4 separate regions of the Homo sapiens genome follow, and all the other regions are linked to region 1. Evidence: promoter capture Hi-C in 16 types of primary human blood cells and fetal thymus (Javierre and others, 2016). All regions are on one chromosome and are shown on one strand. Each heading gives the region's core, a stretch centred on a gene start or on the middle of the fragment in contact. The rest is flanking DNA. Distances are from core to core; before and after follow the strand shown.

Region 1 (3,119 bases), core at 316-2,815:
ACATGACCATAGAAGAGTTAGAAACGTGCTTTCTTTTAAGTAATAATGGAAAATAAGAAATCTACACATACTGATACGGTTTGGCTGTGTCTCCACCCAAATCTCATCTTGAATTATAGCTCCCATAATTCCCACATATCATGAAAGGGACCTAGTAGGAGGTAATTGAATCATGGGAGTGGGTCTTTCCCATGCTGTTCTCGTGATAGCAAGGACAGATAGAGGAGTGACTTTGAATAGAATGGGAGGCAGGTTTGCCCTAAGCGATTTCCAGCTTGAGATTTCCTTAGTGATTTTGGGGGCCCAAGATATTTTCCTTTCACAATACTAAGCAGTTTAATTTCTCTTAAATGTGGCATTTCCACGTCTAAAGAATATTAATATGAAAACTTTAAAAGTGGGAAGATAGCTTTTCCAGGAGGGCAATTGGCCCTCCATATTGGCCCTTGACAGGGCAGGAGCATCGCCATCTTGGACAAACACTGCCATTTTAAAGTTCGCGTTGATCAAAAACTGCCTAAATCCAAAGGGCATCAGCCTAATGGCTAAGGTCAGCATGACCATAAACCACAAATGACATCTCCAATCAGAAACATTCCAACCATAAGATAAACCCCTCCCTGACCAGAGACATGCCAGCACCGAGATAACCTCCCTTCCATTGGAGAGATGTCAGTCCCAAGATAACTTCCCCTCCAACCAGAGATATTCCAACCCCACAACAGACTTCTCCCCAATACAGAAACATTCTAAGCCTGTGGTAAGCTCTCTCTCCCTAAAGCCAATACATACTCTTAGTCCGTAAGAGAGAGCGCTCCTGACTGCAATCGGCCAGAAGGCCCTCTCGGTTTATTCTCCAAAACGAACCTGTCTTTGACTGTTGAGCCGCTTTTCGTGTTTTTTTTTTTTTTCTCTTTAACTCTTACAGCCCTCTTAAACACTTAAACTGTGGTTGTTTTTCTTGCCAAACCAGTGGTACAACAGTGTCTGGTTGTACCAGGGGCTGGTGCCCCACTCAATGCCTCTCCCAAACCATTTTTCCTGGCCCATTATTTAAGCTCTTAGATTTAGCCTCATACTATTAGCGTCTAGTATATTAGCCTTTCAGCCATCTCCTGACCGCTCCACAGTCACTCCCCGCTAACTCCTTGAAGATTGTATCTCCTTGCTTTGTTCTCTTTCAGTAACACTCCTGTCATCATGGGAGGCGTGTAGACTTCAGGAATTCCTGTCTATTCAATATTTTCTCTCGAGGACGCAGGGAGAGGGAAGGACCACTCTCAGGGCCACAGTCCATATTCCAAACCAGGCGCTTGGGTCTATGGGATTCATTCCTCGTGGGCATTGCAGGAAGTGTAGTCAAAGAGCACCGCGGAGTCCCACGCTTCCCGCCGGAAGGTGATACTATAGAACGTCTCCTTTGAGATTCAAGGAAGTGTAGCGCAGGAGATCTGTTGAATGACGAGCAAGTAGGCTCAGGACGGCGTATCCGGGGAATTCTGGGAAATGTAGTTCACACGCTGCGCGGGGTAGGGGCACTTCCGCTCCCGGGGGGCGAGGTTGCTGCAGTGCATTCGGTGGTAGTTTGGTGTCAGTCCTGTGTCTTGTCGGTCCTTCTAAACGTGTCCCCTTACGATGCTGGCTCGCAACCACCTGGAAGTTGACTAAGGGGAGAAGGAGTCTCGTTGGAAAACGGAGGTTTGGAGGGACAACGGCCTCTCTTTTCGTTCTTGTCAGCGGAGCCTTCTTGGTCTTGGGGCTGTCCTCGCGTCCCCGGGCATGAGGCTGGGGGTTGGGACTTGGTCGGGACGCGTCTCGCCTGGTTTGAGGGTTTTTGGGGCTCTCAGCTCGCTCAGTCCGCCTCCCTCCATCCCACCTGTGAGGCTACTTTCTCACAATTTAGGGTTGGGATGTTATTAATCTCCCTGTACCTCCCACTGCTGTTCTTTAAAATGGGGACTTTAGGACCATCCTAATGAAATCGTTTTGGGAACTGGAAGAGGTAACACAAATGAAAGCCTTAAAGCAGCCCCTCCCTTAGTGACTGGTGGTCTCTTCTTAGTGTTTATTTCCCACGAAGCCTGTCAGGTCCCCGGGTGGGGTCAGAGCTCCATCTGCAGGGATCCCCGCCCTTGTCTCTGATTCCTGCAGGACGCTGGGTGATCCCGGACGCTTCTGACCTCTTTTTAGGAAGGCGAGGGTTGTTTCCATTTCCACGAAGGGAGAGGAACATTTAACTTTTATGCCGGACGGCAATGCGGTCAGGGTGTTTCACAGCTTTCTCCTTCCCCAGCCTGATTCTCAAAAAGAGCTGCAGGGAGGGACTTCTTGGCTACTGAGGGCAAAGTTCCACGAGAGTGGTCCTTGGCTTTTTTTCTTTTACAGAGATGCTCACCCCGACCAAGAGTGTAGGATGTGTCCTCAGGCATGGGTGTTGATAATAATTAAGCCTCAATTGGTAACTTTATCCCAAGAGCTTTATACAAGTAGTCACATTTTCGCCACACCGTGGCTCTGTGGAGAGGTACTACTTTTTTCAGTTTTAAAGATGAGTGAGATACAAAGGAGCAGGAGTTATCTGAGAATAGTCACCTAAGCAGTAAGAGGTGGAGCTGCGGTTGAAACCTGGGCGTTACAGGTCAGAGCCTTAGTTGATAATCTTTTGGATACATTCTCATTGAGGCAGAGGAACTAGCTGGAATCTAGTGGGGAAAGCAAGCTAGGACTTGATTGAAGGGAGCCTTGAGAGCAAGGCTTATGGGCTTGGACTGTTCTGGGAGTTTATCAACTATTTCATTCATTAGAACTATTTCATTTATTACAAATATTTCACTTGTTATGCAGCGGTATGATTGTGGAGCGTTCAGAAATTGGAGAAATACGAGTAGTACAAGTTTATAATTACCCATGAATCCAGCATGTAAAGATAGTAACTGTTAAACTTCGAGTGCATTTTTTTTTTTTTTTTGAGACAGAGTCTCACTGTGTTGCCCAGGCTGGAGTGCAGTGGCACGATCTCGGCTCACTGCTAACTCCGCCTCCCAGGTTCACGCCATTCTCCTGCCTCAGCCTCCTGTGTGAGTAGCTGGGACCACAGGCGCCCGCCACCACGCCCGGCT
Region 2 (3,119 bases), core at 344-2,843, 220 kb before region 1:
TAGCTAAAAGCATGAAAATTATTTGACTCTTAAAATTTGAAGCATACACAGAAGTGTGGCAAAATTATGCAGATTTATTTTCTTCATGTATTGAAGAAAAAGAATAATACTTTAATTTCCTCATATAGAGTGGACAGTTTACTCCAAGATCATCATTTTCCCTTAGCTAGCAGTCTTTTCTATCATATCATACTTATGTCACTTTTTTCATACATTATATGACATAGCATTTCCCATATGCATTTAAACCTGCTAATATTGTCAATATACCATGCTGAATGACACTATAATTTAAAGCTTTATTTTCAATTTTAAAATATAATTAACAGTATTAATGTGTTATAAGATGATGTGTGTATCACATTGATTTTTGACAGGGTAGTTTGAGCTTAGTTGAGTGAAAATATGTTTAACAATGGTCAAGAAATAAGTAAACTTAATTGAAAAATAACTCAAAATATTTGTTCTTCCTCTTTTATGAATATCTTCTTAGGAACTTTTTATGCAACCAGAAATTATTTATTAGTAACTCTCAAGATCATTTTGTCTAAGTGAATTGGAGATCTTATAATTTAAAGTGATCCTTAAATAGCAATACAATTACTGTTGATTTTTAAAATTGATAGACATTTAAAATTTTTAAATAAGGTAAAATCTATAGAGTCACATAATTGCAGCATTATATGAAGTTATAAAAATCAATCCTTTTATAAAAATTCTGGCTAATAAATCTAAGTAAATGTAAAATTTAATTGAACTTTATATTTTTACAATTGTGAACATTTATGAAAGCAATGTTTGCTTTATCTCAGGGGTTGGAAAACTCTGGCTCTGGAGGCCAAATCCACCTGTTTTTGCAAATAAAGTTGTATTGGAACATAGTCTTGCCCATTTGTTTATATGTTTACATATTGCCCATGGCTGCCTTGATAAAATGGCAGAGTTGCGACCATTGAGTTGTTAGACAAAAGAGTTGTTAGACAAAACAAAATCAGCCAAAGCTCATTATGATAAGAATTTGATTCCCATTAAGATACATTGGATGACCACAACTGGGCACATAAGGGCTTGATTGATGGAAGCTGACATTTGGTTTGAGGGAACATCAGCGTGGGAAAATGAGGGACTTGTTGAAGCGACCTCTGTGGAATCCTCCAGAAAACTATAAAATCAGAACATTCAGATCACAAGAGCTGCAAAATCAAGGCTGAGTTTGTTATTTAACAAGGGAGTGCCTTAATGCCAAGGAGTGAGTTCAGTAAGTCTCCTAATTTGTCTTTTATTTCTACTGTAGTTTTTTTTTTTTTTTCCCTAGTGAAGGAAATAAAATGTGTGGTTTTCTTGTTTTCTTTCAGATTTGGAGTCAAAAACGTATGAGACCAAAAAAATATTTTCAGAAAATGATATTTTTGAAATAAATTTTTCCCAGTGGGAGATGAAGGACAAAAGTAAAACCCTTGGCCTTGAGGCATCCATCTTCAGAAATAATTGGAAGTGCAAAAGCATATTCGAGGGACTAAAAGGACATCAAGAGGGATACTTCAGTCAAATGATAATCAGCTATGAAAAAATACCTTCTTACAGAAAAAGTAAATCTCTTACTCCACATCAAAGAATTCATAATACAGAGAAATCCTATGTTTGTAAGGAATGTGGGAAGGCTTGCAGTCATGGCTCAAAACTTGTTCAACATGAGAGAACTCATACAGCTGAAAAACACTTTGAATGTAAAGAATGTGGGAAGAATTATTTAAGTGCCTATCAACTCAATGTGCATCAGAGATTTCATACTGGTGAGAAACCCTATGAGTGTAAGGAATGTGGGAAGACCTTTAGCTGGGGATCAAGCCTTGTTAAACATGAGAGAATTCACACTGGTGAGAAACCCTATGAATGTAAAGAATGTGGGAAGGCCTTTAGTCGTGGCTATCACCTTACCCAACATCAGAAAATTCATACTGGTGTGAAATCTTATAAATGTAAGGAATGTGGGAAGGCCTTTTTTTGGGGCTCAAGCCTTGCTAAACATGAGATAATTCATACAGGTGAGAAACCTTATAAATGTAAAGAATGTGGGAAGGCCTTCAGTCGTGGCTATCAGCTTACTCAGCATCAGAAAATCCATACTGGTAAGAAACCTTATGAATGTAAAATATGTGGAAAGGCTTTTTGTTGGGGCTATCAACTTACTCGACATCAGATATTTCATACTGGTGAGAAACCCTATGAATGCAAGGAATGTGGGAAGGCTTTTAATTGCGGATCAAGTCTTATTCAACATGAAAGAATTCATACTGGTGAGAAACCTTATGAATGTAAAGAATGTGGAAAGGCCTTTAGTCGTGGCTATCACCTTTCTCAACATCAGAAAATCCATACTGGTGAGAAACCTTTTGAATGTAAGGAATGTGGGAAGGCCTTTAGTTGGGGTTCAAGCCTTGTTAAACATGAGAGAGTTCATACTGGTGAGAAATCCCATGAATGTAAAGAATGCGGAAAGACCTTTTGTAGTGGGTATCAACTTACTCGACATCAGGTATTTCACACTGGTGAGAAACCCTATGAATGTAAGGAATGTGGGAAGGCTTTTAATTGTGGATCAAGCCTTGTTCAACATGAAAGAATCCATACAGGGGAGAAACCCTATGAATGTAAAGAATGTGGGAAGGCTTTTAGTCGTGGCTATCACCTTACTCAACATCAGAAAATTCATACCGGTGAGAAACCTTTCAAATGTAAGGAATGTGGGAAGGCCTTCAGTTGGGGTTCAAGCCTAGTTAAGCATGAGAGAGTCCATACTAATGAGAAGTCTTATGAATGTAAAGACTGTGGGAAGGCCTTTGGTAGTGGCTATCAACTTAGTGTTCATCAGAGATTTCATACTGGTGAGAAGCTTTATCAACGTAAGGAATTCGGGAAGACCTTTACTTGTGGCTCAAAACTTGTTCATGAGAGAACTCATAGTAATGATAAACCCTACAAATATAACGAATGTGGGGAAGCCTTTCTGTGGACAACTTACTCAAATGAGAAAATTGATACTGATGAAACCTTATGATTGAAAGTTGTAAAAGAATATTTTGTGTGTGTGTATAGACAACTTATCATAATAAGAACTC
Region 3 (3,119 bases), core at 351-2,850, 220 kb after region 1:
GTAAATTGCAGGGTCACATTAGATAAAAACAGTATTGTTCAGTCTATAAACTGACACTAAAAATCATACTGTACACAACTGATGATACACTGTACAAAGAACTAAGGCTGAAGGATGGGAGCCATTCATGTCTTTTTTCCAAATTTGTGTTAGTATGGATGGCAGTATTATATACTTTTCAGTACTTACTGAAACTAACGTTATTAAGGCTACTTGCAGGATTCCTTTTGAATATAAATTAATATAAATTTAGAGTAGAAAACAGACTAGAATTTTCAAGTATTTGTCCTAATTATAGGTATTTTCTTCACTTTCTTCAGTAATTGCTGGGCCCTATTATGAGCCAAGCACAATTCTACATGGTAGAGATAGAGTGGTGAAAAACACCTCCTTACATAGAGGTTACATTTTAGTTGACATCCATTTTTTCTGTCAATCATACTTTTGTTAAAGGAAGGCCTCTCTCCTGTGCAGACTCCGACAAGACTTTTCTGCTGTGTTACATCTTGAGAACCGGGACACCTGGTACTCTGATATAAACACTGATCATATTTACAGAACAAAGTTTTCTCGCATCTGTGAAATATGACGTTTGTAAAGAATTCATGTCCTAACCAAGTCTAAAACACAGCATTTGAGAGACTTCTTTCCTGTCAAGATTCTTTGAAGCTTCTAGTTTTAAAGGAACTTTTCACAATCATCAGCATGGACTTCCCAACGGAGACAAAGATGTGAGCTCTAACTGAAGGCTGAACCACACCTCTCATTTCTACAGATTCCCTCCAGTGTGGACTCTCTGATGGTAGATGAGATGTGACCTCTGACTGAAGCCCTTACAACAGACATCACATATGTAAGGCCTCTCTCCAGTGTGGACTCTCTGGTGTGTGTGAAAATGTGAGGCCTGACTGAAGCCCTTCCCACACTGCTGACACGTATAGGGTTTCTCTCCTGTGTGGACCCTCTGATGGGCACTGAGACCAGCACTCCAACTGAATTCTTTCCCACATTCCTCACATTTAAATGGTTTCTCTCCAGTGTGAATTATCTGATGGACTTGAAGATTTGACCTCTGGCTGAAGGCCTTACCACAAGTGTCACATTTATATGGTTTCTCTCCGGTGTGGACTCTCTGATGGGCTTGAAGGTGTGAGGCCTGACTGAATCGCTTCTGACATGCATCACACTTGAATGGTTTTTCCCCAGTGTGGACGCTCTGATGGGCTTGAAGATTTGAAGCCTGACTGAAACCCTTACCACACTCTTCACATTTGTAGGGTTTCTCTCCGGTGTGGACTCTCTGATGATTGTGAAGATTCAAGCTCCAATTGAAGCGCTTCCCACACACTTCACATTTGTATGGTTTTTCTCCAGTGTGGACTCTCTGATGTGCTTGAAAGTATGAACTCTGACTGAAGCCTTTCCCACACACGTTGCATCGAAATGGTTTCTCTCCTGTATGGACCCTCTGATGGCTCTGGAAACTTGAGGCTGAACTAAAACCCTTACCACACTCTTCACATTTATATGGTTTTTCTCCTGTGTGGACTCGTTGATGACTATGAAGATTAAAGCTCAAACTAAAGCACTTACCACACTCATCACATTTGTATGGTTTTTCTTCAGTGTGGACTCTCTGATGGGTATGAAGATTTGAGCTACAACTAAAGCGTTTACCACAATCCCCACATTTATATGGTTTCTCTCCAGTGTGAATTCTTTCATGGGCCTGAAGATGTGATCTCTGAGTGAAGCCCTTCCCACACACCTCACATTTATAAGGTTTCTCTCCAGTGTGAACTCTGCAATGAATGTTAAGATCTGTGCTACGACTGAAGCCCTTCCCACAACTGTCACATCTATAGGGCTTCTCTCCTGTGTGAATAGGCAAATGAGCATAAAGATGTGAGCTCTGATTAAAGCTCTTACCACACTCGTGGCATGTATAGGGTTTCTCCCCTGTGTGGACTCTCTGATGAGTTTGCAGATTTGAGCTCTGACTGAAACCTTTACCACATTCATGACACCAATAGCGTTTTTTCCCAGTACGAACACTTTGTTGAACAGGAATACCTGAGCTATAACTGGTGTCCTTCTCATGTGTACTACACGCTGGAGACTTCTTTCCCAAGTGTACCTGTTTATGAAGTTCAAGACTGGAGCTATCATTGAAGGCTTCTTCACATTCATTACCCTGGTAGGTTTTCTGTCCTGTGTGAATACTACGCTGGGTAAGAGGTGATACCTTTAGGGTATCTTTACCACAATCACTATTGCTATGAACTTTATCTCTTTTGTGCACTATATTATCATCATGGTGGTGTGAAATACAACTGAAAATGTCAACATATGGAGCAAATATACATAGTTTGTTTTTCATCTGAGTCTGCTTACAACTTCTCTGATAATTCTGTGTCTCATTCAGATATATTTTACTCCAAGAATTCGGAACTTTCCCAGTTGGAAATTCTTGATTTTCAATGATACTGGAATGATCCCCTATGTGATTCACTAGACAGTTGTCATCCACAGAAGCTTGAATAGATTCTCCTGCTCCCACTTGACAGGGGGAATCATGGTGCTTGGGGAACTGAGAGCTCTTTCCTTCAATATTTATCATGGAGTCTTGACTTCTGGCTAATTTGCTCGCAATGTGTCTCTTGATTTGCCAGCATGAAAGCTCTCCCAGTGAAAAGCACCTTAATCCTGCTTTGTGAAGAGTTGCCATCTCATTTTGATTCCTGTCTCCTGAAAGGATAGAGAGAATAAGGAATAAAGGACCAAGAGACTGACATTAGCAAAGTAGAGAATTAAGATCTAAGCTCTCATTTTCCCCATGGAAACGTCAAAAAAACAACTAGACTGGCTGAAATAAATTTATAGGAACTCTGAAAAGCAGCTGCAACCAAGAGAACACCAAATGTTTTAAAAAGCCATATTTAAGATAGAAAATTTGAGATCAGCCCAGGGTATGGTTAAGGTGTATCTTGGGTCTTTTCTGAGTATGAGTCTTGCTGCCTGTGTGTATTCTCCAGTATACACAACTCCAAAGTGAATGCTTTGTCCAGATGTTTCCAAATTTTACACATAGTTCCTTCGGTATCAGGCTTTAGTTCATG
Region 4 (3,119 bases), core at 325-2,824, 200 kb before region 1:
AAGCTTTTTTTTCGTGACCTAGTGAAAATAATAGGAACATTCATTGAAATGAAAACTTTTCACTGTATAAGTTCATAATAATGATTTTATATATTTTTCTAGCATGAATCAATATATAGAGGATTTTAACAGGACTGAAAAGCCTTGTGAAAAGATGCATGCAATGAAGAAATAGGCAATCTTAGTAAAGAAATAGGAACTATAAAAGTACTAAAGGAAAATTCTAGAACTGAAAAATGTAATATCTGAAATTAAACAATTTGATAGATAGGCTTAGCAGCAGAACTGAAATGACAGAGAAAAAGAATAAGTGAATTTGAAAACAGAGTAACAGAAGTTGTCCAAGCTGAAGAACAGAAAAAAAATACTGAAGATAAATAACAAAGACAGTGACCTGTGGGACAGTACCAAAAGATTTAACGTATGAGTAGAGTAAATGCAGAAAAAATATTTGAAGATATAATGGCCAAGAATTTCTGGAATTTGGTGAAAGGCACATGTGTGCAAATTTCAGAGGCTCAGAGTACCCCAAGCAGAATTAACACAAAGAAAACCATACCTAGGCACCTCATACTCAAACAGCTGAAAACCAAAAGTAATAAGAAAATCTGGAAAGCACCCAGAGAAAAAGGACACATTACATAAGAGAAAAAACAATTCAAATGACTTCTTCTTGTAAACTATGGAGACTTGAAGACCAGAAGTCGGTGATTTATATATACATATATGAAACAATATATATCTCTTTATGAGTATATATATGTGTGTGTATTCTTTGTGTGTGTGCATATACACACACATATATTCATATATCTCCAAAAAACTGCCAACCCAGAATTCTATAGCCAGAAGAAATCCTTAAAAAATAAAGGCATTTCAGTAAAAGAAACTATGAAAATTCATCACCAGCAGACGTTCACTCCAAGAAATGCTAAGTTAAGTTCCTCAAACTGTAGGGAAATGATACCAGAGAAAAATTCAGATCTCTGGAAAGAAATAAACAGCATGGGAAATAGTAAATATATGGGTAAATATAAAAGATGAGGATTTTCATCTTAATTTCTTTAAGCAACTGGGTGTAGCACTGTGTGCCTATAGTCCCAGCTACTCCAGAGGTTGAGGCAGGAGGATTGCCTGAGCTCAGGAGTTCAAGGCTGTAGTGTGCTATATAACATCTGTGAATAGCCACTGAATTCCAGCCTGGGCAACATAGCAATACCCCATCTCTAAAAATAGAATACAGAAGACTGTTCAAATTTCCAACATGACTTTCCATGGATTACTTATTTAATTGCAAAGAAAAAATTCACCCATAACAATGGAAGGAGCTGGTGGTCAATACATGAATCAAGGGATAAAACATAGTTTCACTTGTAGGCCACCTGATACTTTACAATATTAAGTACATGATACTATCTATGAAGTAGTCTTTTGAAAATGTTTAATCTGAAACCCAATCAAGCCTCTAATCATAACCTCCAGGTCACAGTAAATATAGAGGACAAAGAAACAAGTTAATCACACCTCCAGAAACAATAAGACAAACACAGCATGTGCAACACTATTTAGGTCAAATCTAAAGTCTTCAAAAAGTCTATGTCACAAAATGATGAAGGGTAGGCTCTTGACTAAAAGAGACTTAATAAGCCATAATCATATAAAATATATGAGATTAGTTTGGTTCTTGGCTTGTGAAAAAGACAGTGCTAAAAGACATTATTTTAAAAATTGGAGAAATTTGCAAATGGAGTGAATATTTTAAGACATTATAGGGTTACTGTTAATTTTTTTGTGACAATGGTGTAGTAGACATCTAGAAGATTATCTTTGATCCTAGCAGTTGTATGTTGCCTTTTTTTTAGAGGTGAATGATACCTAAAACATTCACTCAAAAAACAGGAAAAGTGATATATGTAATATATACATATATTCATGTGTAATAAGTATGATATATATATATATGCATCTGTGTATATACATAGACATAAGACATGCATGGTATATATGTATTTGTGTGTATATATGTGTTAGTATACACATAAAAAAGAGAGACATCAGATGTACTGAAACTAGGTGAAGGGCAAACAAGCCTTCACTGCACCACTGTAAACAGCTACCTTTTCTGTAAGGATGTAAATCTTAACATTTTCATAAACTTAGGGAAAACTTTTCCAAGTTAATATCTGTCTTTTGGCTACCTAACTGTTCATTTCTAATTTATTTTAATTGTAGAGGATGCAAAATATGTGTTATCTGTATTATAGGATTTGTGAAAAAATTTCTTTAAACCACTCTCTAATTTTCAACAGCTATCCTTTCATTATTCAATAAATACACATTATTTATTCCAGCATTAATCTTCAGGGGTATGAATTCTGAATTTAAAAATTTCTCATTTAATATATTCTACAGGATTTTGTCCAGAATAAATTATATGAAGTGATGATAGAGCATTTTCAAAATATCACACTCATAGGGTCTTCCTTCTATAAGATTTATTTTTAGTAATTCTAACAATTATCATAAAAATAATGTATTTAGTAAGCAAATACGATGTGCCAGATGCCTTTCCAAGTATTTATATTCTATATTAACTAGTTTAATCTTCACTATAGCATCATAATAGTGACAACAGTAAAAATGTGCCATGGCTAAAGGCTTTCCCTCTCATTACATTAAGAGTCTCTCACCATGGTGAAATCTTTGATGTTGACTAAGTTGATAGCAATGACTAAAGGCCTTACCACATTCTTTGCATTTCTGTGGTTTCACACCAGTATGAATTGTCTCATGTTGAGTAAGTCGATCACTGCGATTAAAGGCCTTATCACATTCTTTACATTCATAGGGTTTTTCACCAGTATGAATTCTCTTATGTTGAGAAAGACCTGAGATAGAACGAAAGGCCTTCTTACATTCTTTACATACATAGGGTTTCAAACCAGTATGAATTGTCTGATGATAAATTAGTTGAGAATTAAGTCTAAAGGTTTTTCCACATTCCTTACATTCATAGGGTTTCTCCCCAGCATGAATTGATTGATGTGTCTTAAGGTCTCCAACACGACTGAAGGCTTTCCCACATTGCTTACATTCATATGGCTTCAAATCAGTATGAA

The links. Contacts are between HindIII fragments. The CHiCAGO score rates a contact against its expected background, and 5 or more counts as called.
Region 2: a fragment that was not itself captured here is called in contact with the fragment with the promoter of ZNF284 in region 1 in 4 of 17 cell types (neutrophils, activated CD4 T cells, M2 macrophages and 1 more); the score reaches 6.2 in neutrophils.
Region 3: a contact is called between a fragment that was not itself captured here and the fragment with the promoter of ZNF284 in region 1, in 2 of 17 cell types (total CD4 T cells and fetal thymus). The highest score is 7.9, in total CD4 T cells.
Region 4: a contact is called between a fragment that was not itself captured here and the fragment with the promoter of ZNF284 in region 1, in 2 of 17 cell types (non-activated CD4 T cells and total CD4 T cells). The highest score is 5.6, in non-activated CD4 T cells.

Annotation. Positions count from the first base shown.
Region 1 is chr19:44,070,594-44,073,712 of GRCh38, forward strand. It overlaps ZNF284 (zinc finger protein 284), which reads left to right and starts at 1,566. Exons shown (of 5, transcript NM_001037813.4): 1 at 1,566-1,698. The HindIII fragment of the contact is 12,821 bases long and covers 1-3,119 here.
Region 2 is chr19:43,845,584-43,848,702 of GRCh38, forward strand. ZNF283 (zinc finger protein 283) reads left to right here. Exons shown (of 7, transcript NM_181845.2): 7 at 1,356-3,119. The coding sequence ends at 3,058. Among named protein-coding and RNA genes, the nearest start is that of ZNF283, 20 kb to the left of the region's middle. The HindIII fragment of the contact is 2,596 bases long and covers 296-2,891 here.
Region 3 is chr19:44,286,449-44,289,567 of GRCh38, forward strand. ZNF235 (zinc finger protein 235) reads right to left here. Exons shown (of 5, transcript NM_004234.4): 5 at 1-2,748. The coding sequence ends at 770. Among named protein-coding and RNA genes, the nearest start is that of ZNF235, 17 kb to the right of the region's middle. The HindIII fragment of the contact is 1,866 bases long and covers 668-2,533 here.
Region 4 is chr19:43,869,885-43,873,003 of GRCh38, forward strand. It overlaps ZNF404 (zinc finger protein 404), which reads right to left. Exons shown (of 3, transcript NM_001033719.3): 3 at 2,481-3,119. The coding sequence ends at 2,671. Among named protein-coding and RNA genes, the nearest start is that of ZNF404, 13 kb to the right of the region's middle. The HindIII fragment of the contact is 3,147 bases long and covers 2-3,119 here.